4 separate regions of the Homo sapiens genome follow, and all the other regions are linked to region 4. Evidence: promoter capture Hi-C in human tissues and cell types (Jung and others, 2019). All regions are on one chromosome and are shown on one strand. The core of a region is centred on a gene start or on the middle of the fragment in contact, and the rest is flanking DNA. Distances in the headings are between cores, read along the strand shown. Region 1 overlaps LINC-ROR (long intergenic non-protein coding RNA, regulator of reprogramming). Region 2 holds the start of WDR7-OT1 (WDR7 overlapping transcript 1). Region 3 has its middle 79 kb from the start of LINC02565. Region 4 holds the start of BOD1L2 (biorientation of chromosomes in cell division 1 like 2).

Region 1 (6,323 bases), core at 1,973-4,472, 83 kb before region 4:
TACAGACAGGCACCACCATGACCAGCTGATTTTTGTATTTTTGGTAGAGATGGGGTTTCATCATTTTGGCCAGGCTGGTCTCGAACTCCTGACCTCAAGTGATCCACCCACCTCAGCCTCTCAAAGTGCTGGGATTACAGGTGTGAGCCGCTGCACCTGACTGATTTTGTGATTTTTCTGAAATGGCAAACAACTCTCGGTAAAGACACAGTGCAAGCTCCCCTCTGTAGAGAAATGTGAGCCCGTTTCCTGGAATGCAGCATGAGGCTGGGGTAAAGTGGTGATGCTTTCTCTAGGAGGTACAATCCCAGGGCAGCAAGCATGAAAGACAAGGAAGCGTGGCAGTGAAGGTGGAAAGCCACACAAACTTATGCGCTGCTGGACAGCCGCTGCTTCAAGACATGCTGTGAGGAGGGTGTGTACGCTCGGCCACACGGGAAGTCCCCAGCCAGCTTGTACAGAGAAATCAAACTTTAGAACAGTCCCCAGGGAGAAGGAAGAAAGTGGGAATCCTGATACCCAATGGCCAAAGTTCATTCCATGGGGAATTGACTCTCCTGTACTTCTGGGTTATGTTATCTGGTCCCTTGGCAACTGAGCAGGAAGCCAGATCACACCTCCTTGAGCGTGGCCTGTTATGTGATGCTAGAAGCAACAGAAGCATTCTGAGATTCACGGCACAAGGGCACATGGCTGGTGGGGCTTAGGTGGTGGAATGAGGATGCCTTGTTGAGACTCAGGTGGAGCAGAAAGCTGAAAGCCCAGGTGGCAAGGTGCAGCGAAGAGAATCTGAGGAGATGAATATGCTGTGTCCGATCCAATATAGTGATTGCAATCCTGGAAGACCCGTTGTATGTTAAAACCTTTTAAATTTTTTATGTTTATATATGAAAAAGAGTTACATTTCAAGCTCAGATCACTATAAAGATGTTTTTCAATCTATTCCAATGTTTAGTGGAACATCTGAAAGTCACATAGAGCACGGGACGATTATTTATTCTGTCCCTTAGATTTCAGGAAAATGATCACTGATATTTGTAAGTTTTAGGCCTTGTTCTAGGGGCTTTGTAAAGGTTGATTCACAGCATGTGCACAACAATCTTGGGAGGTAGGCATGGTTATTATTGCCATTTTACAGATGAGGAAACTGAGGCCAGAGAAGTTTACACAGCCAATCAGTGCTAGAACTGTGATTGGAACTCAGGGGTCTGGATCTTCAGCGGTTCCAGTCTTCATCCTCTAAATGCCACTGGTATCTCCTCTACCAATTGTTGGGACAAGAAACACACTCCCAGAAATTTCTCCCCAGCCCATGGGAGCAGTATGTTCCCCACAGGCCCTTTGCACAGTTCACAGATGGACACATGGCCCCCAGGGAGCTGGGCCTGCTGGGGCCACCACCTAGAGCCCCAGGTTTACTAACCCTGAGCAGGGTCAGGGATGGAGTGGGTGCAAGGGGGCCTGCAGGAAAGGGAAAGGTGAAGGGAGGAAGAATTTGGAGCCTCCTTGTGCGCCATTTCGCTGTGCTTCTAGATGCTTTCATGGCGGGCTGGGCGTTTGGCTGAAGTGGTGGCTACAGATTTCAAGGTGTTTTAAAGGCTATCACCCAGACTCCGGTCAGGCACCAGAGAAAATAAAAACGAAACCCCAACCCCAAACCAAGCCAATCTCCTGTTTCTGGGTCTGAGGGCTCCAGGGGATTTCAGAGGATGAGGGCACATCTGAGGTCCTCGTGGTCATCTTGTTTCCTGGCTAACTTCGCCTCCTTCCACTCCACTCTGATCCTTTGGGCCTCCCCGATCTCCCTTAACCCTGAGTTCACCCCTGAGCCCCTTCACCCTCCACTGAGAGGGGCCCTGGCCCCTGCATCTCTTCCTTCTCTGGCTCTGAGTCTCTGTGATGTGCCAGTGCTGTGCTCCTGGCCGCAGTGTAACAGACCTTCTGGCCTGTCTTGAATTTCCTGCACTCAGGATATACAAAGTTGGAGTTGAGATGGTGGATGAGGCATAGCTCACAAAGAGTATTAGTTCTCCCATTAAAATGGGCAGCTGTTTAATTTCATGCCAACTCATGATGGCATTTTCCAGAACAGAAAAAAATAAACAGAAAAAAAAAGAGAGAAACAAAAACCAATGCAAGATGAGTTTCCATTTGGAAATCAAATATGTGTCCATTTATTTGCACCTGAGATTCTAGAGGCAAAGGAATTCCAAGCTTCGCTAGTGGACCTTGAGTTTTCCCTCCCTACTCACAATGACTACAGGGGCTCTGGGTGTCACTTTGAGACCTGGCTTCAGCCCAGGTGTGCTATGTCTGCACAGATGTGCTGTCTCCTCAACTGCTTCCACACCCTGCTGCACCCCATGTGCCGCTGCCCAGGAGCCGGCAGAGCCCCAGCGGGCCCTTTGTCACTCGCTACCCAATGTGCATTCTCCAGTGGGCACAGCAGGCAACCCTGCTCCGCGGGCCTCTGCCCGAGCCAGGGATTACGGGATGGGCTTGCCTGCAGTGGCAGATGGTAGTGCTTAGAGCTAAACTGCATTTGGCGCTTTGAACATCTTGAAAAGATTTCTTTAGAAGTTAAACTTGGCTTAGGAGTGACAATATGTTTCAGTCTGTGTCTTTGAAAAGGCCTCAGGGTGGTGCGAGGGGGGTTGGCTGTTTCATGGTTCCCTGCCTTGTCTTGGCTGTTTTCCACGGAGTCCTGTTTCTCATGGGTCCTGCAGTCACAGTGGCTTCTAAATTTTGGCTCCATTGTTTGGAAGTCACATTTGTTTCTGTACATGTGCTGTGGGAAAGGCCACACTGGCTGTCCTGCAAGGACACATTTAGATGCCTCTGGGCAGTGGGAGAAGCGCATGCCTTGGGGCACACATGGAGGCAGAGGGCGTTGTGTCCTGCACCAGGGCTGAGTTTTGCTGTTGCCCCTGCTTCAGCCTATCAAGGGGTTGACAAGCATCCGGGCAGGGTTTGGGGTCCCAAACCTTTTGGCATCAGTGAGGACCAATTGACAGCTTCTTGCCTCCTGGAGCTCATGGCTAATTGCACTGGAATAATACCCTCCAAATCCCCATCCTAGGCTTGTCCTATTTAACGAATCCTTTGGGGGACAAAGGGTTTGATCATCTCTGAGCTCAGATAACATCTCTCTTCCCCATCCCACAATTTTCCCATCCTCAATTTGGCCACTGTAAACTCTGTCAGGAAAAACCCAGCCTTCCTCCCAAGGAAGGCACCCAGGAGCACCTTCTGGGGTGAGTGAAGCCCTGAAATTGGCAGAAAGGCAAGGCGAGTGTCCAGCTTGCATGCCAGGCTGGCCAGTGCATCTCTCAGTGGCTTCTGCAGTCAGAGCAGGCTCCATTGACCATTCATGAGATGTCAGGTGGTCTACAGATGGGAACACAGCATTATTGATTTTTACTAGCCTGCTAAAATGGAAGGGAAAATACCCTTCTTAAAAGCTCCCGGTTAAGCTTTGTTTCCTAAATGGTGATTCCAGGGCTCTGAGTTTGTCAAAGGCAAATTTAAAATAACAGGACTGTTGAAGATATAATAAAATGAAATCTTCTTACAGCCATTAACTTCAGAGAGGAGATCTCTGACTCAGGCTTGGAGGCTAAGGGGGAGAGGGAGAGAGACCCACAGAGTGGGGGAAGGGGGAGAGAGGAAGCTGAAAGAACAAAACCAGCAGCTCTGCCCCTCATGGCAGCCCCTTTGATAAGATCGGATGTGAATGTAAAGAAATGAATTCCACCTTCTCTAAATTGACAACAGTTCCCTGGCCAAGCAACGACGGGATGTGATCAGGGAGCACTGGCCTGATGGGCCCCCACCAAGTGCACTGACTTGGAAAATGGGGAAAGTTGGGGGTCAGGCGATGAGCTCTGGGGGAGGAAGCTGGAGAATGAGGAGGCTCCAATTGCCCTACCACTATTACTTATTTAGATGTTGTTTCTTGTTCATCTTCCTGAGAGCTCTCGTAGTCCCAATGACTGGAACACAGATGAGGACACGGTCGTGTCTGCAGGGGTGTCTGCACTTCCAGTTGGCTTGCTTGGATGTGTGTGGTTCTTGGAGCCATCTTGGGTGATTTTCCTCCAAATCTTTGACATTAGGGAAAGCCTTTCATGCGCGTCCGTGTGAAGAGACCACCAAACAGGCTTTGTGTGAGCAACATGGCTGTTTATTTCACCTGGGTGCAGGCGGGCTGAGTCCAAAAAGACAGTCAGCGAAGGGAGATAGGGGTGGGGCTGTTTTATAAGATTTGGGCAGGTAAAGGAAAATTACAGTCAAAGGGGGTTTGTTCTCTGGTGGGCAGGAGTGGGGGGTCGCAAGGGCTCAGTGGGGGTGCTTTTTGAGCCAGGATGAGCCAGGAAAAGGACTTTCACAAGGTAATGTCATCACTTAAGGGAAGGACCGGCCATTTACACTTCTTTTGTGGTGGAATGTCATCAGTTAAGGCGGGGCAGGGCATTTTCACTTCTTTTGTGATTCTTCAGTTACTTCAGGCCATCTGGGCATATGCGTGCAAGTCACAGGGGATGCGATGGCTTGGCTTGGGCTCAGAGGCCTGACATTCCTGCCTTCTTATATTAATAAGAAAAATGAAACAAAATAGTGTTGAAGTGTTGGGGCAGCGAAAATTTTTGGGGGGTGGTGTGGAGAGAGAGAATGGGCGATGTTTCTCAGGGCTGCTTCGAGCGGGATTGGGGCGGCATGGGAACCTAGAGTGGGAGAGATTAAGCTGAAGGGAGATCTTGTGGTAAGGGGTGATATTGTGGGGTTGTTAGAAGAAACATTTGTCATATAGAATGATTGGTGATGGCCTGGATACGGTTTTGGATGAATTGAGAAACTAAATGGAAGATACGAGGTCCGAATAAAAGAAGGAGAAAAATGGGTATTAAAGAACTAAGAATTGGGAGGACCCAGGACATCCAATTAGAGAGTGCCCAAGGGGATTCAGTGTAATTACTTGCTTGGTTGGCAAGTTTTTGGGCTCTATCCTTGAGTTTTTTTATGTTGTCATACACCAGGCCAGATTGATTTAGGTAAAAACAACACTCTTCATTTAAGAATATACAGAATCCTCCTTTTTCAACAGTGAGTAAGTCAAGGCCTCGGCAGTTTTGGAGGACAACTGCAGCTAAAGAGTCAACTTGGGCCTGGAGGACTGATAAAGTTTGTGATATGTCTGTGATGCTAGCAGAGAAGTCATTAGACAGGCTACGGAAGGTCGTGACAGAGGTTGAAATGCCTGCTATTCCAGTACCGAGAGCAATAGTGGAGGCAGAAAGTCCTAAACCAACCATCAAGGGAATTAGTGGAATAACTCTTTTTTGTCATGTCGGTGTCATGAGGGGAACAGGGAGCTCTTCGGTCCCATTTGCAAATTGAATTTTGGGGGTAAGGAAAACTAGTGTGCATGTGCCTGTCCAATTAGCAGGTAGACACATGTAGGTAGAGGATCCACAGAGGAAGAAGAGACCTTGTGCAAGGCAAAACTGGAGATGTAAAGTAAAAAGGTGAGGAGTGCTGAAAGGGGTGTCTTGTACCCAGACTCCTAGGGATCCAGCTAGGGCGGCAGCCGTCAGAGGTTGTAATGGGGACTGATGGGGTAACTGCATAGAGGAGGAGGTTCGATTTTCATGGTGTATGAGAAAACGTTGACTATCCACGAGCAACCTTTCACTGTTATTTTCGGGACTGGGTATAAGTAAACAAGAAGAGGACTTGGGAGGAGAGTCTGATGAGCAAGTGGAAGGTAGCCAAGGATGGAGTGAAATACAGCGTAAGTGTGTTCCTAAGCAATAATTACTGCTAATGTTTTTAAGTTTGTCAGTATTGATAGAGGGCTTGTCTGTAATATGGAGCTGGAAGGCTCCAATTGTTTCAGTGATGTGTGTAGTTGGGCTTCGGAGATGAAGAGTAAAGGAACATCGAGAAGGTAAAATATTACCTAGGGGAATTCCAGTGGGTCTTTGCCGAGAGATACATAAAGGAGCGGCCACAGGAATAGTAGTTTGTGTTGTGAGAGGTCCAAATATGGGGGGAGTAGAGTATAAAGAGAAAGGTTTTTTAAATAAGTGCGGAGGAGGGCGGCAGCTTGCTGATGTGAAATGTCTGGGGAAGTCTTGCTGGACCTGTCTAGAAAGTAAATGAGTTCTTTAGGAGGGTAAAGGTGAGGGCTGTTAAAGGAAGTTCGGAGGTGTAAGGAGACAGGAGATGTTGCCCAGTCTGTCTGTAAGGCGGGGACAGCTATGTAGGCACTGGAAGAAAGGGAAATGCAAAGCCAGCAGTTGGTCACTAAGGAGGGATTAGAA
Region 2 (6,275 bases), core at 242-2,741, 110 kb before region 4:
ACATGAGCAGTGACGGAAACAAGGGCAGCTGAGACCCAATAGCCCAGGGAAGGAGTGGGCAAGGTCAACCCGGGGTCTCTGAAGGAAGATAAGGAGCTGGATGTTGGTGGAGCAGTTGGAAGCGGGAAGAGCTTCTAGAGAAGAAAATAGCACGTGTGAGGTCCCTGAGGCAGAAGGGAGAGTGACAGCAGGTAATGAGCCAGGTGTGGCCACAAGTGAGGCATCTGGACAGTATTGAATCCTGTAGACAATGGTCAAGGGCACTCTTAGGGGACTCAAAAACCATCCAAAAATTGTGAGTTGAAAGGTGTGATTTAATTTAGCTAGAAAACACCACTCAGCTGCAATGTGGAGAATGGGTTGGAGTGGGTTGGGGGAAACGGGGTTTGTTAATTATCTATACAGTAACAATATTAGCACAAACTTCTTAAAACACATTTGCCCGGGTGCAGTGGCTCATGCTTGTAATCCCAGCACCTTGAGAGGCTGAGGCAGGCAGATCACTTGAGGTCAGGAGTTCAAGACTAGCCTGGCCAATATGGTGAGACCCCATCTCTACTAAAAATACAAAAATTAGCTGAGTGTGGTGGTACACACCCATAATCCTACCTACTTGGGAGGCTGAGGCAGGAGAATCACTTGAACCTGGGAGGCGGAGGTTGCAGTGAACGAAGATGGCACCACTGCACTCCAGCCTAGGCGACAGAGTGAGACTCTGTCTCAAAACACACACACACACACGTACACACACACACGCACACACACACTTGCATGCACACATGCGCATGCACACACGCGCATGCACACACACACATATTTATGGCATTACAGCTTCTCGGAACCAGGCATCCAGCCTAGGCTTAGCCAGGAGCCTTGGCCTCAAGATCTCTCACAGGCTGCAATCAAGGTGCTGGCTGGGTCTATGGTCCCATCTGAGGCTTGTGAGGGAGAGAATTTGCTTCAAAGTTCATGTCATTGTTGGCAGAATTCAATTTCTTCTGCTTGTAGGACTGGGGGCCTCACTTTCTCGCTGGCTGTCACTGGAGGCCCTTGCAGGCTGTTGGCTGGAGCCTAGAGGCTTCCTGCAGCTCTCTGCCACTTGGAGTTTCCCAACACAGTCACACTGCAGCGGTGGTGGCATTATGGCTGAATCTTGAAAGATGAATAGGAGTTTCCCAGGGTGGAAGAACATTCAGACAAAGGGGAGACGTGACTGAAGGCATGGAACTGTGAAGGCAGGTGATGTTTTCAGGGAGCAGCAGATGTAGCCAGTCCCTTACCCAGAGCCATGTTCCCCTTTATTCCATGCTTCTAAGCCTGGGCTTGGCTCTGTTCTTTGCACCAATGACCATGTGCTCAGGCTGGAGTTTATCAGCCTTGGAAATGGAAGCTTGATTAATTCAAGCCAGCAAGCTCATGCAGTGCCTAGTGGTATAAGTAAGGCCTTCAGTGCCATTCTGGCCCATGAGGTGGGAGGGGGGTGCTCTTGGGAAAGGTTTTCCTCCCCAGTGAAAAGAGACATTCACGTAGAAGTTTCTATCTGTGGACATAGCTGTGTGAATCTGTGATACCTGGGAACCCACAAGCCATTTTGGGCCTATGTTGGAACCCACCTTGGCTCAAGCCAACTTACTGGGGTAAATCCTCAGTGACATCACTGGGCTTCTAGAGGAGCCAGCCCTGCAGACACCCACCTCTTTCTCCTGTCATATGATATAATCATCTTCCCCACTGGCTGAGCCCCTTGCAGCCAACCCTTGAAAACAGACTGTACAGTGTACAGTGACATGGCATGAAGTGATTCAAACTCATGAGCTGAAGCCAGCATGAAGATCTTTGTAGCCAGTGACACGGAGCTAGGCTGTTTCCTGAGAGGTCTGGAGAGTTCTCAATGATTTTCAGGGCAACAATGATCCCATATCTTGGCTAAACCTGGTGGCAGGATGCATCATAGTTTAGAAAATGGAGATCGTTGTGACAGGGAGGCCAGGGATGGCTGCACATCTAGAGATTCTGAGAACTCAAACTATTGCAGGTGTGATGGACACCAAAAGGAAGGGCCAAGGGACATGTAAGAGGCAGGAGTTAGAGGAGTTGGTGAGTGAAATGTCAGGAAGGAGGCAGAAGCCCAGGGTTCCCCAGTGCGAGAGATGGGGGACCAATGGCATTTGCCAGTCCAGAATACTCACATTCTTGGAAAACATCATCCATGTTCACACCTTGATTCCTTCACTGCTACTGTTCCCTTCGCAGGTAGGATCCTTCCACAGAAAATTCCCATTCACATAATCCCACATTATAGCATTGCTGCCGTGGGGAAGTCAGATTCCATTTACACTATTCAGACTTGCAGTCCCTCAGTCAGGAACACCAGCTCCAGGAGTGAGACGCACCTCTACGAACTGTATTTACGTTAACCCTCAGAACACCATCCCACATGACAAGCCACAGGGTGAGTAGAAGGCTGAATTACTTCAAATGTATTGGTTAATAACTTAGTCAAAAAATACAAAGCTGCAGTGTCTGTCACATTGGATCTATTTCTTGAAGACAAAGGCTAAGCTTCATTGCCGGCTCAGAAATGCACTGGAAACAATTCTTGTTGTTTCACTTCCTGGGGCTTATATTTCTTGCTGTTTGTAAAATATGGTATTAGATAACAAAGAAGAGTCTGGGTAGAAAAGGGTAGAGTCTACATTCCTCATGTTGAAAACCTGCTTAGGGTGATTTTCCCCTTACTGAACTCCTAAAATTACCAAAAAAAAATGTATTCAATTATTATATTTTGAATTTCATCAAGAAAAAATGTGTGGAAATTTGTTTTCTCTCTGTGCAATATTCTCAATTTTGCCTCTTAGCCCACAAAGCCTAAAATATTTACTATCTGGCCCTTCAGCAGACAAGGTGGCTGTCTTAGTCCATTTTGGCTGCTATAGCAAACTGCCATAAGCTGGGTGGCTTATAAACAACAGAACTTTATTCCTTACAGTTGTGGAAGCTGGGGAGTCCAAGATCAAGGCATGGGCAGGTTCAGTGTCTGGTGAGGGCCCAGTTCCTGGTCACAGAATGCATCTTCCTGCTGTGGCCTCACATGGTGGAAGGGGTGAGGGAGCTCTCTGGGGCCTCTTTTATGAGGGCACTAATCTCATTTACTAGGGCTCTGCCCTCATGGCCTAATCAACTCCCAATGTTCCCATCTCCCAATACTGTTGCTTTGGTGATTAGGTTTTAATGTATGTATTTTGAGGGGACACAAACTTTCAGTCCACACTGGTGACTGACTCCTGAGCTACAGCCATACCATTCAAAGTGTGGTCTGGCACTTCTCAAAAAAAGACATTTCTGTGGCCAACAAACACATGAAAAAAAGTTCATGATCACTTAGAGAAATGAAAATCAAAACCACAATGAGATACCATCTCATGCCAGTTAGAATGGCGATCATTAAAAAGTCACGAAACAACAGATGCTGGAGAGGATGTGGAGAAATAGGAACACTTTTACACTGTTGGTGGGACTGTAAACTAGTTCAACCATTGTGGAAGGCAGTGTGGTGATTCCTCAAAGATCTAGAACCAGAAATACCATTTGACCCAGCAATCCCATTACTGGGTATATACCCAAAGGATTATAAATCATTCTACCATAAAGACACATGCACATGTATGTTTATTGCAGCATGGTTCACAATAGCAAAGACTTGGAACCAACCCAAATGTCCAGCAATGATAGACTGGATAAAGAAAATGTGGCACATATACACCATGGAATACTATGCAGACATAAAAAAGGATGAGTTCATGTCCTTTGCAGGAACAGGGATGAAGTTGGAAACCATCATTCTCAGCAAACTAACACAGGAACAGAAAAACAAACACCACATGTTCTCACTCATAAGTGGGAGTTGAACAATGAGAACACATGGACACAGGGAGGGGAACATCACACCCCAGGGCCTGTCGGGGGTGGAGGGCAAGGGGAGGGATAGCATTAGGAGAAATACTTAATGTAGATGACGGGCTGATGGGTGCAGCAAACCACCATGGCACAGGTATTCCTATACCTATGTAACAAACCTGCACGTTCTGTACATGTATCCCAGAACTTAAGGTATAATTAAAACAAAAACAAAAACAAAAACTAAAAAGCAAAGTGTGGTCTGGGCACCAGCCGCATCCATATCCCCTGGGAGCTATTTAGAAATGTAAAACCTTAGGTCACACCCAGACCTCCTGGGTCACAACTGCATTTTGGCAAGCTTCCTGGATGATTCGTGTGCACCTACAGTTTAAGAAACACTTCACAGGAGTCCATGTGGAACCTCACAGGTGCTGTTGATAGTTTCATTAGGCACCAGGCTGGGACTGGCTCTGGGCACCACCATTCACTGTGTCCCAAGGTGGAAGCCCAGGCCTCTTGCACAGGGGTGCACTAAGGTATGCTGCTCCCCATCAAAAGATTGGCCCAAGCCCAGATCCTAAAGCCAATCTCTCTGGGGCATCTGTTTTCCCATCTGTATGACGGAGGGGTTGGAAAGGCTGATGTCAGAAGACCAGTATGGCTTTATCATGTGTTTGGTTTTTGTTTGAGGGGGATTGATAGGATGATTTCTGTCCATGTTCATGTTCATGTTCCAGAAACATGGTAGGTTGAGATGAAAAGGGCATGACAAGAACCACAGCAGCTTCCAGATGAGGCTAGTGTATGGAGATGTGAGATTCGGGATGTTTCATTTTACATAGATCATATTCTGTAAGGTTATTCTTCTAGTTCTATGTTTCTTTGCATCATAGGAAAAAGGAATCGGATCCAGGGAAAACGCTGTACCACTGGGGCCCGGGTGCCTTAAGTGGTTTTCTGATCAACTCCATAGAATCAGAATGTCAGGACTACAAGTCATCCGTGTCCCTGCAAAGGACATCTCATCTTCATTGATCATCCATGGTGCTGAGCATTTAAGAGGCACCAGGGATGTAACTTTGAATCAGAAGAGACCTGGTTCCTGCCCTTGTGGAGCTTACATTCCCGTGGGTGAGACAGATAAAGAGCAGTAGTTATAAGCAAAAGGGGGAAAGGAAGATGCGGGGGTAGGGAGTGGTTTGCAAGAGGAGTCAGGTCACACAGGGTTGGTGTGGGATGGGGCATTAACAGGAAGAGAACACTATGAGATTTGTGTTTCGAAGAAACCATTGGCTGATGTGCGAGATTGGAGAGGAGTAAGAGAAGGCATGAGGAGACCAATTAGGAGACTACTACAGCTTCCCCAGAGGGAGATGACGAAGGGAGGGCAACTGCTTCCATTGCAGGGAGCGAGACCCAGCCCCAAAGAAAGCAACCAAGGATGAAACTGAGAACTGGGGTAGAAGGTACTGACACCAAAGTCCCAACCAAAATAGTTAAAACCGGTCATCCCTGGCAATAGTACTGCAGCCAATGGAGACACTGTTACTGAAGGACTGTGTGGCCTTGGGCAGGTTACTCCACCTCGCTGGGCCTTCTGTTCTTTCCTTGAAAATCAGAGGTTCAACCAGATAATTACTGTATGTGGTGACCAGATAGTTTCTTGTCCTAACTGGGACACTTTTGAGGGCGAAAGATGGAACAATTAATAATTACCCCAGGACAACAGACATAAACCTAGCCAATCCTGGGAAAACTGGGATGAAAATCCCTGACAATCAGAGCTCAGAACCCAAATGAGCTCCCTCCAAGTTCAACACTCTGTTTCTCAACAATTCTTTTATAGATTGGGAGCTGAAGTCAACTCATTTGTAACCAGAATTAAATAGATTCAAAGTTCCTGCTGAACTGAACTCCTGGCTAAGAACCCTGCAAGCATCCTTTCTACTCCCCAGTGCATTGAAAACCCTATTTGTGGTGAAAAGAGGCCCTGTTTTAGCCTCGAGAAGGGTGGAATTGCTGGTGAATGCAAGGACTGGCAAGGGGGTCAGCCTATCTCTGATATGGATGATGCTGTGCATGCACCTGTGGGGTCATGGGTGGAGGGAAGGCAGATGGAATCAGAATGCCCCCAGAGCGGGACTGTTGACTATGTCCTGGTTAGACCCAAGTCTCTCAAAAAGTCATCTTCTTCTTTTATGAAGACATGTAGCATAGCCAGTTCATTCTAGTTGGAAAGGCAACTAGGATTTGGAAATAGGAAATTCAGATTCAAGTCTCAGGTCTGCATGCTACTTCCCTGCTGGTGACCTGGACAAATCACTTTCCTTACTTAATCTCCCATTTTCTCAGTAAATATAGATAATGCCACCCTC
Region 3 (5,841 bases), core at 1,736-4,235, 100 kb after region 4:
TGGAGAGATTATGCCAAGCTTTACAAGTGAAGGAAAAATTCCAAGGAAGTGTGTCCCTATTTTACAGCAGAGAGAAGATGACTTGACCAAGGTGAGTGGCAGAGCTGGGGGCAGAAGTTTCATATCCCAGCTCTGAGCCTGCGCCCAGCATGGCCGCAGGATGCAAGGAAGCACAGTGAAAACTGCCTTTTTTTTTTTTTTTTGAGACGGAGTCTTGCACTGTTGCCCAGGCTGGAGTGCAGTGGCGCGATCTCTGCTCACTGCAAGCTCTGCCTCCTGGGTTCACACCATTCTCTTGCCTCAGCCTCCTGAGTAGCTGGGACTACAGGCGGCCGCCACCACGCCTGGCTAATTTTTTGTACTTTTAGTAGAGACGGGGTTTCACCATGTTAGCCAGGATGGTCTCGATTTCCTGACCTCATGATCCGCCCGCCTCGGCCTCCCAAAGTGCTGGGATTACAGGCGTGAGCCACTAAGCCCGGCCGAAAACTGCTTCCTTAGGGATAATTGGTTATTGCAGTGATTCCATCTTGGCCTGCACTTCCTCTACACCCTCACAGCCATAGTGCCGCCCAAAGAATCCTCCCTGGCCAGCAGGTAGAGTCCCTGGAAGTATGGCTGTCACCACACAATCTCAGCATGAACCAGCTGTCCTAGTTTCCTGTGGCTGCTGTAACAAAGTACCACAAACTGGCTGGCTTAAAACAACAGGAATTTATTTTCTCACAGTTCTTAAGTCCAGAAGTCCAAAATCGAGGGGTCAGCATGGCCATAGTCCCTGGCAAAGATCCTGGGCATGGGCACACTCCTTGTGAATGTCACAGGCCCACTGTGCAGCCAGGGTGCTCTTCAAAAGTGGCAAGTGCCACAGTAGAGGACAGCTTCAGCTACAGTGTGTGTGCCGAACTGAGAGGCACCCTCTCACTGTAGGATTACATAAATCTTTATGGAGAAACAGCATCTGAGATGGACCTGGAAGGGTCGGCGGGGTTCAGACCTGCCGGGATAAGGGGAGGGCATTGCAAGCACAGGGCAGTGCAGGAGAGACTGTTGCTGTGCTCTCTAGATGGGAAGCAACAGGGAGAGTGGCTTCTCCCTCCTCAGCTGCCAGAAACTTTAGCAGGTGCATTTGAATTTAAAAATAAACTCACAATACAAATGACCTATACTGATACATATGTAAGACATATAAGACTTTGTGTGCAGCCTCTGTCTGCCTCTGAAGCATGGATACAGTTGATTCCCAGGCCCTGGGGGCTGAACCCCAAGTGAGCTAATCAAGGTGTTCTTTTCACATCAGAGGCTCTCTCTTGTAACAACTTCGAAGAAAATAAAATGTTCCCCACCTCAATTCATATTCAGTATATTACATCATCTCAGCAGTCTCAGGGGTAGGCACAATGACTGGCCTCATTTTGCAAAGCAGGAAATTGAGGCTCAGTGAGGTTAAGTGATGCAATTAAAGTTATATAGAAGGAAAGTGATGGGACCCAGTGTATACACACAGGTCTGCCTGGCTCCAAAGCCCTTAGCCTAATTCTTACCCACTGCCTGAATTGATCCAGTACCTTATCTACAGGCTGCCTCAAGGAGGATGGGGACAAACCAATCAAAATACTGTGGCATTTATGAAAGCTTTTTTAAAGTGGTTTAAAATGACCGGGAAAACAGGACGCTTTAGAAGACGTGCAAGATGCGGCTTGGCAAGAATTCTAACGAGCTCACAGGCTTTGCCGTGCATGCCTGGACTGTATCTGTTATGGGCCAGGGATGAAGGATTTATTCCATTCATGAATCAGAGAATAACTATTGTTATTATTTAGCATTGATTAATTGTTCCTCCCCCTAAACCCAGGTCTCTCTGCACAGTTCTCAGAAAATCATTAAGCTTCAGGAGTTGTCTGGGCTTTGACATTCTGGGTAAAAGCGCTGCATCGTGAGCCCTTCAAGGATAAGCCAGATCTCAGAGTGGCCTGGCAAAGGGCCACACAAAGGAGATGGCCCAGCCCACTGCAGGATGCTCCATGACCCCTCACCCCTGTCCTGGCCTCAAAGCAGCTCGTGGGAGGTCACCGTCGTGACCCAAGAAGAGGGGCAGAAATCACAGACCTCTGCTTCCTTACAAAGAAAACCAAGCAGGCTCCAACTGTTTCCCACACTAAGGATGTTGGGAAATGCATAAAAATTGTGTAATTCCTAATAAGGAGGGGTAACCCTTCAGGGGTAATTACAGCGGCCACATTTGTGTGGCTTGATTAAATGTAACATTGTAAAGGGAGCCAGCACGGTGAATTTCCATCCTGACATCCAATAATACTCCCTGACCCTTTGGATATTGTCCTCCCCGGAGGTCAAAAATATGAATAAATTATGGTTTTGACAACCTTGACATGGAGTAGAGGTGGGGTGAAAAGCTCTCTGGGAAAAAATTCTGACATTACATTTGTGATCACAGAGAATAAAGGAAAATTCATATCCTAATTTTGCTAAATTTAAGCTTGACGGAGAAGAACACAGAATAACCTTTGGTGTTATGTTTATTCAGAAGGCAAGGGGCCCTCAGAGCTCAAAACCAAGACATATCCTCTGTCATTCACCGTGAGGCGGGTTCCTAGTTCCTGCTGACAATTTTTATTGATTAGAAATTATCAACCCAGGGACAATGCCATCCAAAGAAGTTGGCTGAGAAACAATATTGTTAAATAGTTAGCCATGGTGCTTCCAGTCAGGTAAAATGTGTGCTCAGAGAGAGCGGGGCCATCCATCATGAGTGAGAAGCCTCATTTACAGAGACAACTGAGCCCAGGCAATCAGCCTGAAATCTGCTAAGCTGGGAATTTATAACAGTTCAGCAAGGGAGGGTTGTCTCTTGTTTTAGGTTCTGTCAGTGGATGGGGGAGGAGCAGAAATCAAGGCCTGGAAGGAGAGGAGTGAATTACTCAGGTGGCCTTGGGGAGGCCGCCTTTGGGATGAAGGGTAGGGGTCAATGTGAAGAGATCGTCCATCCATCCATCCCAGTCTGGAGCCTATCGGACTCAAGTTCAAAAACCCAGCACTGAGGACATAAAACCTACCGGATTTGTCATTTAAGCAGCTGGGAACATGTCCAGGCGGGAGCCCTACATCACTCAAAAGCCTGGATTGATGGCAAGAGAGGAACAGCCCAACACTCTTGTCCTTGACATCATGACCTTCATTTCACTGTGCCAATGGCAGCACCGTAACCTCCTCAGTGGCCAAGGCAGACACTCACCTCTCCTGAGCTGAGTCTAGAAGGGTCTACATGCCCGTAGAACAGATGCCAGAACGCTGTGACCCAGCTCCCAGCTGCTTGCCTCCCAAGCAAGTAGGCATTGACATTTCACAGAGCAACAAGTAAATCTGATTTTGTGCCGCAACACTCTTTACGAGCTTTCCCGCTTTTCCTGAGTGTGTGCCTCTGTTCTTTCCATCATTTCTTTCCCTTAAAATACCTCCTCTAGATGCTTCCAGGTAGTAGAGGGCAGTGGTTAAGCATTCAGGCTGTGGGATCATACTGCCTAGGTCCTAAACCAGGCTTGCTTTCTTCCTGGGTGTAGTGAACATTGTGGTGTGCCACTCAGCTGTCCCCTTCAAGCTCAAGGCACTCCTATCCCCAGCTTCAGGGGATGCCATGCCAAGCCATATTACAGCCCACAGCAAAGGGAAACATTAGTACTACTGCTCCTGTTTTACTTAAAATTTTGAAAGATGTTTATTCATCATGGATGGTTGCATTAATTTTTATATAACTTTGCATCAAACTATTATTAATCTTGATTGCTAGATGTGGCACCATCTGAAGTTTTGCATCTGGGGTGATGCCTCACTTCTTGCAGCCTAGGCTCAATCTTGGCAGGGAGTGTTGGCTGCTGATGGCTCACAGTTGAGCAGCTCCCCAGAAAGAAGCCTCGATCAGAGGGAGCTGCCTCCCAGCTTATGCCCCTCGAATGTAAGGAGCAGTCCACATCCAACGACTGGCCAGTGAGGAATTTCACAGACCCCTGGACTCAACTGAGACACCCCAAAGGGTCAGTCCAGCCCCCTCAGAGCTCCTCATGGGACTGGTCATATTGGTTTCCTGGGCTGCCATAAGAAAGTGCCACTATCTGGGTGACTTAGAACAACATAAAGGTATTGTCTCACAGTTCTGGGGGACAGAAGTCTGCAATTAAGGTGTCAAGAGGGCCTCCCTCCCTTTGAAGGTGCTAGGGAAGGATGTGTTCCCAGCCTCCCTGGCTTCTGGCTTTTGGTAGCTCATCAACTTATAGCAGCATAACTCCAATCTTCACACGGTGTTCTTTTATAAGGATGCCACTCATGTCAGATTAGGGGCCCACCCTACCCTGGTATGACCTGATCCTAATAATGACAGCTGCAACATCTCTATTTCCAAATAAGGTCACATTCTGAGGTACTGGGGGCTAGGACTTTAACATATGAATTTTGGAGGACATCATTCACCCTGCAAGTTCATCAGTGGAACTGCGCCATAGCCCAAGCCCTCCCTCTGCCCAGCCCTGCCCACCGGCCTCCGTCACTCCCTTACAGCTAACCCAGGGTAGCCCCCTGATTTCTTTCACTGGAAAAGACTTATCTACTCCATACTAATCCAGGTCAATGTTCTATCCAATTTAACACTCATACTCTCTCCTCCCCTGGGTATTTTGGACTTGGATGGGAGGGGATTACACAATTATTTATTTTTCCTCCCCCTACTTTAGCTGTTAGGGCAGAGAAAAATGTGTCTCACTTACCTGGAGTTGTCATGGTTCATGGTCTTCTCTCTCTTTCTCTTTTTCTCTCTCTGTTTCTCCTTTGTTTTCTTTTTAGAGACAGGGTCTCACTCTGTCACCCAGGTTGGAGTGCAGTGGCACAATCACAGCTCACTGCAGCCTCCAACTCCTGGACTCAAGTGATCCTCCCACCTCAGCCTCCTGAATAGCTAGGATTACAGGCACACACCACCACACTCAGCTAATTTTTTAAATTAATCTTATGCAGACAGGGTTTCCCTATGATACCAAGGCTGGTCTTGAACTCCTGGCCTCAAGCAATCCTTCCACCTCAGGGTCTTCTCTTTACTGACACTGACTCTCTAATTACACCCCCTGTGTGATAGGCCTCTTGTTGGGCACATGTGGAAATCATGGAGGGAGTTCTGGGTTGGGCAAAGTGGGTCTCTGATCTGGGCACCCACACTGCCAGCTCCTGTTTTGAGCTGGTAAAGAACTCAAGCCCGGCTATCTCCCATCAAGTCTGCTCAGCTCATATGCAACTCATGCCCCTTTCCTCACCAAACCATGGGGGTTCAGGGCACCGCGCTGCTGCCTTCTCTCTCTGCCCACCTGCTGTCTCTCTCCAAGCCTTTTCTCCCCTCCTCAGCTATACTCAGGAAGATCAGTGAGTCTATGGCTTCAGCATGAGCAATGAGAAAATGAGATGTTGGCCTCCCCTTCCTGTAGGCATTGCCGATCTCCATGAGGGATTCTCTGAAAGCCCCATCCCTCTCTATCTCTCACGTGGAGGAGGGAATCACAGCAGTCCACTGGATCAATAAACTCCAAATCCCTGCTAGTTCCTCTCTCTCCTCTGCCTCTCCCTGCTCAGTAGTTTCCTCATGTAGACTGAGGGAAGGGAGTTTGAGGAGATAGCTCTGGGATGGGGATATGGGCAGCAGAGTTGTTGAGCCATCTCTTGGTGAGCCAGCGGGGCCCCCAGACACTTGCTTATTTGAAAGTCCTTTTACAGCCCTTGTCTTCACCTGTGGGTCCTAGTTGCTGTTTCTGATGCCACAGCAAAGTATCACTCAGCATTCTGTTC
Region 4 (6,111 bases), core at 2,263-4,762:
CCAATAAGATTGGTTCGAGGATGAGGACTGATCCAAGGTAGACCAAGAGATATGATCTTGAGACTTCTGTTGGAATTTCTCTTTCTCAGAACTAGCAGCTCTCCTGTCAGTGGCAGTTGCTGACTATGGGTGATGCACACCTGCAGCTGCTCGGAGAGCCCTGTTAAGACATCCAGCCTGGGAGGAGAGCCAGTCAGGAGGAAACCAGAGATCAAGTTCTGATTATTGTGTTCAAGTACCTGGATCCCACTATGCCTGAGCCAGAGAGACCTTTGTGTCTTTAAGTGAGCCCATATATCCCCCCTCCTTTTTTAAGCTGGGTTTCTGTTGTGTGCAATCAAAAGACTTGCCTAATGCATTTGTGGATCTTTCCAATGGAATAACCAGTGTTTAGATCATTGATTGTAGAAATAAAGCAGGAAACATACACACATAGTGAGATATGAGGATTCTCCGAGCCTCTATGAGCAAAAGTAGCCCACTCCCACCTTCAAGCAGAACTGGAACCTCTGAGGTTCCAGTATATTTACTCTTCTGAATTTTAGGATTAACTCCAGGAGTGGTAGCTGAAGCTGTCAGCAGCCAGAAACATTTCAATTTGAGTTGATTAGTCCAGTTTTTTCCTTTATCAGAAGTGGAGAGAAGTGGGCTGGAAAGGAGTGAATATGCAGAAAGTGCTTTGGTATTTGGGGAGGAGCTAAGAAAGGTATAAGTGATGTGGTCAAGGTGACTGGGAAGGAAACAGAACACAGAGCGTTAGGATGGGGGTGGAGGGGACACTAAAGATGTAGGAAGAGATGAAGGTAGAAAACACCAAAAGTTTTACCTGTAGAGATGTCACAAGAAGTATAGCAAAGACAAAGTCTTCCTGAGTCATAAAGGCAAGGGTCATCCCTACCCTTGAACAATACTGGTCTAGGTGCCTATGTAATACATGAGGAAAATTGATACTGATAAAGACTATTGACTGTTTCCTACCAGGTAATATTCAGAATGTCATCCCTCCTAGGCATCCTTGCATGTTAGAAGCTATGATATGAGATTATTGACAGAGTCTGTAATATTTTCTTGGTGAAATATACAATCTCTGAGTTATGCTAAGGATCATAGAACACTCTGGTATCTACATTTCAGAGTCTGACACTAGTGTGATTGCGGGTGTGGGATTAGTGGGTGGGAAGATGGTGTGATCTGTGTGATTGTGGGTGGGTGTGGTGGGGGAATGGATGTGGTCTGAGTTAGATGGCATGTGCCTGTGTGTATCTGTGTGTGTAGTTGCGGTGGGAGGCACTGGTTTGAATCAGCATGGGGCTTGCCTTGTCCGACAGGCAGCTGTCAGCCAAGGGGCACTTCCAGTTGTAATTGAGAAATGGCAGTGTGCTATCTCTCCCGGAGTGGGATGATAGTAATTAATTGTTCATTGATCCCTGCAGGTCAGCTAGAGGTCAGGGAAGTTACTCTAGTGGCCTTATAGTTTGCCAGGCAACCGGGAGCAGTGGTTTGAAGCCTCGGTGAGAGGTGAGAACTGTCCTGTGCCCTAAACCCTGATCCAAGGTGATGGGATAATTATGGTAACTTAATGTTTATGATTACAAATAATACACAAGTCAGCTATTCAGAAAAACCATGCCAGCACACTATTTAAGACTTGGGGAGGATGTGGAGAAAAGGTGTTTGACAGTGAACATTTTTCAGTACAGAATGGAACACTGCAATATGATTGTTATTATCATCACTTTCAAAAGCTTAGGTAAGTGTCCCTCTGTGGGTGAGGCTGTGATTGGAGAACCCCATAGATCTCATCTTGGATCCACATAGGTGATTGCATTCTAAGAGAACTCCTGTGCAATCTGAAGGGCTCATGCACAGTGAGGGGATAAATGAAGACTCAGTTCAGGCTCCAGCACTTCTGCAAAGTCTTCTTCCATCTGCCACGTTCTCCCAGGCTTCAGTGTTCTCCAACACATGACAGGGACACCCTCCTTTCATCTATGCAATCTTTATTCTGCAAATATTAATGGTGCCTCTCTTTTGTTCCAGGCACCATGCTAGGTGTGCATGTTGCATCTAAGTTCCCATGGAGCTTGTGTATGTCCTCAATGGTTTTCTCTGTCAACATCTCCCCTCTCCAACTAGATTGTAAGCTTTTCAAAGGCTGGCCATGTTGCCTGTCTTAAACAACAGCCACAGCAAACATTTATTGAGTGTTAGACTGGGCCAGGCACGTGGAGAGCTCCATAAAGCTTAGCACAGGGCCACATCGACTAGTCCCTCAATAAATATTGATTAATTTAAAAAAATACAGAACTGAATTGTCGAGCTGATCATGGGGATGGTGAGGAGCATAGGTAGGGGGTTGCTGTGGTGAAGTCTTGGTAGGTTCACTGTCTCCTGTGGGATGAGATTCAGAATACGTCCATCTGAGGCATCTGTACTTGTATGTCAGAAGCTATGGGGTGAGGTTATTGACAGAGTCTGTTGTGTAAACTTTCTTTGTGAAATATACTACCTTTAAGCTATGTTACGGCTTATAGAACAATGTGGTGTCTACATCTCAGGGGCATTTTAATTCAGGGAAGTGAGTGTTGGGGTGAAATCAGGGATCTGCTTTTCTTTTGAAATATTGATAGAAGGTTCTTTCTGTGCACCTGCACTTCTCTATTGGATGGCGCTGGATGTGGTTGCCTTTTGTGGCTCTTGGTTGCAATACAGTTCTCTTGTTGAAATGACCTCCTTCTGACTGACACATCTGCCCTAGGCTCATCAATGGCTACCAAAGCCAATGGACACCTTGTGGAACATAGTGTGGCATTTCACCCATGGCCTTCATGAAATGTACCTTTTGCGGTCTATGATCCAAGGCTTTTGTAGTTTTCCCTCCATCTTTTTAGTGTTGTTCTCAGTCCCCCTCATGGGCTCTCCAGGTGTTCCTCTATCTCTTCTAAGTTCTCCATTGTAATTGCCACCTATAGTCTCTACCTTCAGTGAGTTAGATGTCTCTCCCCAGCCCCTAGTCCTTGTATCTTTGGACTTCATAGGCAGATGTCTGCATCTGAATAACCCATACCCATCTTAAACTAGTAAATAAAAATGGAATGCACGATCATGTCTCTGTCTCCCATCCTCACCTCTATACCTGTTCTCCATTTAGTAAATGGCACCTCCATGCACCTGCCCAAGTGAGAAGCCTGGGGGTCATCCTTGACCCTCTCCTTTCCCTCGTCCCTCACCCCGTTGTTCTCCAATCCCTGGGATGAGTCTATCTCCTAAATATCTCTTGTATCCCTGTTACCTTCTTCACCTGCCAGGCCACGAAGATCATTCACTCCTCGCCATCTCCTTCTTAGGGCACTGAAATGGTTGCTGAAATTGTCTCCCTGTTTCGCCCTTGCCCACTGGCATTTGTTTCCCACCTCCCTCTTAGAGATCTTTTAAGAAATGCAGATTACGGTTCCCGCCTCACAATGCAAAGGTCAACGGTGACGCCATCTGGAGCGCGCTTGGAATCCAGCAGGCGGTTGCTGCCGCGTCTTCCACAACCTCCGCGGTCTGGAGCTGGCCTCCCCCACCGCCGCCCCAACCACCGGCCCCGCCGCCATCACCACCACCGTCACCTCCGCCGCTGCCTCCTTGGGGCCCTCCTCCTTCACCGCCCCCTTAGCCACCTCTACACATTCTAGGCTTTCTGTCCTGGAGAAGAAGCTATAATCGGTTTCCTTGTGGGCCCGGTGCGCAGCCATGGCGGACGGTGGCGGCGGCGGCAGCGGCGGTGCGGGCCCGGCCTCGACCCGGGCCAGCGGGGGCGGCGGCCCCATCAACCCGGCCTCGTTGCCCCCTGGCGACCCTCAGCTCATCGCTATCATCGTGGGGCAGCTCAAGAGCAGGGGCCTTTTTGACAGCTTCCGCCGGGACTGCAAGGCTGACGTGGACACCAAGCCAGCTTACCAAAACCTGAGCCAGAAAGCGGATAATTTTGTGTCGACACATCTGGACAAGCAGGAATGGAATCCTCCAGCAAACGACAACCAACTGCACGATGGTCTGAGGCAGAGTGTGGTTCAGTCAGGGAGGTCAGAAGCTGGAGTGGACAGGATTAGTTCTCAGGTGGTGGATCCAAAACTAAACCACATCTTCAGGCCACAAATAGAACAAATAATTCATGAATTCCTGGTGGCCCAGAAAGAAGCAGCTGTGCCAGCACTCCCTCCAGAGCCAGAAGGCCAGGACCCTCCAGCTCCGTCTCAGGACACTTCCTAAGAATATGCCTGACAGCTTTTGAAAGCGCTATTTAATTTTTGGTGAAGAAATGGATTCGGTTACATAAGAGTGCAGTTTCAGATTGAAGATAAGCCAAGTTCATCACTGAGCTCAAGATTTCCACCTCGACCATGAGCAGTGACCAGATTGAAAGGGAAGCAAGTTCGCCAGAGAGAAAGTTGACCGTGGCACCCTCCTGCATTGCGCTGCCATTTGGCCAGCCTTTCCAAGGGCATGACACCAAACACACACTACAGAGAGGGAAACACTACCGCGACCCAGGATTGTCCTGAAACAGACATCTATACTTGAACATGGAGACTGCACATGGATTTTAGGGTTTGTGCTCTGAGATAAACGAAAGCTACAGCGAGAGAACATAACCAATCCCAAAGACAATTTCAAAGAACAATGACAGTAAAGGTTAACTGGGAGGAATATTTGACAGTACTTATTTGATATTGTCTCTCAGAGTTGCAAACTAGATTGTACACAACATTAGTGTCAGATAGCTTTGAAGTTGTGACCTTCTTGTACATGAATCTTCTAGCCAGTTTCCTTTCCTTTGTAAGAGATAACAAAGCATGAAACCCTAGAATGAGTGAGAAGTTCAGACATTAGGTATAAGGAAACTCATTTGCAGACTCTCTGTCCAAGAATGCTTCCTGTCTTGCAGGGGCTAGTGAGTCTTGGGTGTGTTTATGTTATGCTCACATTTGTGTTTTATTTGAAAAGTGGATGGTCAATAAATGGCTTATCTTTCAACTGCAACAACAAAAAAGAAATGCAGATTTACATCCTTTTCCTCTTTAAGCTCCGTCAGTTTTCTGATATTTCTAGAAGGTCAGACACCTGGCATGGTTTATGAGGCCCGTGATAATGGGGCCCCTGGTCACCTCTGCTGCCCCGTACACTGTCATTTCTCATATGACAACCATGCCCATGACTATCCTGGACACCCTGTGTTCCCTCTGCTCACTGTGAAGGGAATGCCCTCAACCACTCCTACCCTCCTTTAAGACTCAGCTCCTGAGGAGCCACACATCGTCTAAGCAGGAGTGACAGACTCCTTCCTCTGTGCTCCCATAGATCTCATAAGGGATGACCACACTTACTATAGTAGCTAGGTCTGACGAAGCACTTGCTCTATTGCTCTACAGCTGGCAGTGTACTAAACGCTTAACTTCGCTTACCGTAGTAAGTCCTCATGATCTAATTGAAGAAATCGTATCTTTATTCCCATTTTTATTCCCATTTATAAATGTAGAAACCAAAGCTCAGACACTGCCTAAGTGGTGGGGCTGGGGCTGAGCCTGTATTGAGCACAGAGCCCTCACTTTTAACCCTTTTAACCATGCTTTTAGCCACACCACCTCACCACAGTGAACTGTCTTTGCTTACAGATCTGTCATCCCCACTTAAATGTGAGCTTCCTCCAGGGCAGGGATTTGCTTTGTTCATTTCTTTTCCTTAACCCCAGGACCTAGCACATCACAGGAGCTCAGCAATTTGTAGAAAGAAACCAGTTCTGGATTTGTCTTTTCCAACATTTAATTTCTCAGATGGCAGTATTTATCATCTAAAAAGTGAACAAAAATTAATTTTGCATCTAGTGTCTACATGTCTAAGCAAGAAAGAGCTTTCTTATCCCTGGAGGTATTTTATCTGTAATGTTTACCTATGAGCTATTTTAAATGATTCTTCAAAATTTAGAGTCCAGAAGGTAGAAGACCATGTCCTTTCTGAAAATGTCCCTTCCTTTCCCAGGTACCAGGCTCTTTTTAAAATTAGCTTCTGAATATGAACAACCCAGCTCTTTAAAGTTTAATGTCCCAGCCATTTTAATTGTTTCTT

Evidence for each region. Contacts are between HindIII fragments. The study calls those that stand out against the background at their distance.
Region 1: a contact is called between a fragment that was not itself captured here and the fragment with the promoter of BOD1L2 in region 4, in 6 of the 25 tissues and cell types used here (H1 embryonic stem cells, aorta, hippocampus and 3 more).
Region 2: a contact is called between a fragment that was not itself captured here and the fragment with the promoter of BOD1L2 in region 4, in 3 of the 25 tissues and cell types used here (neural progenitor cells, pancreas and thymus).
Region 3: a fragment that was not itself captured here is called in contact with the fragment with the promoter of BOD1L2 in region 4 in 8 of the 25 tissues and cell types used here (H1 embryonic stem cells, IMR-90 fibroblasts, adrenal gland and 5 more).

The regions. Positions count from the first base shown.
Region 1 is chr18:57,060,524-57,066,846 of GRCh38, forward strand. The region is part of intron 2 of LINC-ROR (long intergenic non-protein coding RNA, regulator of reprogramming); the gene reads right to left. Among named protein-coding and RNA genes, the nearest start is that of LINC-ROR, 8.4 kb to the right of the region's middle. RefSeq lists enhancers at 1,167-2,056, 4,155-4,690. The HindIII fragment of the contact is 5,495 bases long and covers 476-5,970 here.
Region 2 is chr18:57,039,167-57,045,441 of GRCh38, forward strand. WDR7-OT1 (WDR7 overlapping transcript 1) reads left to right here and starts at 813. Exons shown (of 3, transcript XR_001753461.2): 1 at 813-2,452; 2 at 4,794-5,031. The HindIII fragment of the contact is 3,837 bases long and covers 1-3,410 here.
Region 3 is chr18:57,247,252-57,253,092 of GRCh38, forward strand. No RefSeq gene overlaps it. Among named protein-coding and RNA genes, the nearest start is that of LINC02565, 79 kb to the left of the region's middle. The HindIII fragment of the contact is 7,453 bases long and covers 1-5,841 here.
Region 4 is chr18:57,143,575-57,149,685 of GRCh38, forward strand. BOD1L2 (biorientation of chromosomes in cell division 1 like 2) reads left to right here and starts at 3,513. Exons shown (of 1, transcript NM_001257964.2): 1 at 3,513-6,111. The coding sequence starts at 3,739. The coding sequence ends at 4,257. RefSeq lists an enhancer at 3,682-4,277. The HindIII fragment of the contact is 20,182 bases long and covers 1,945-6,111 here.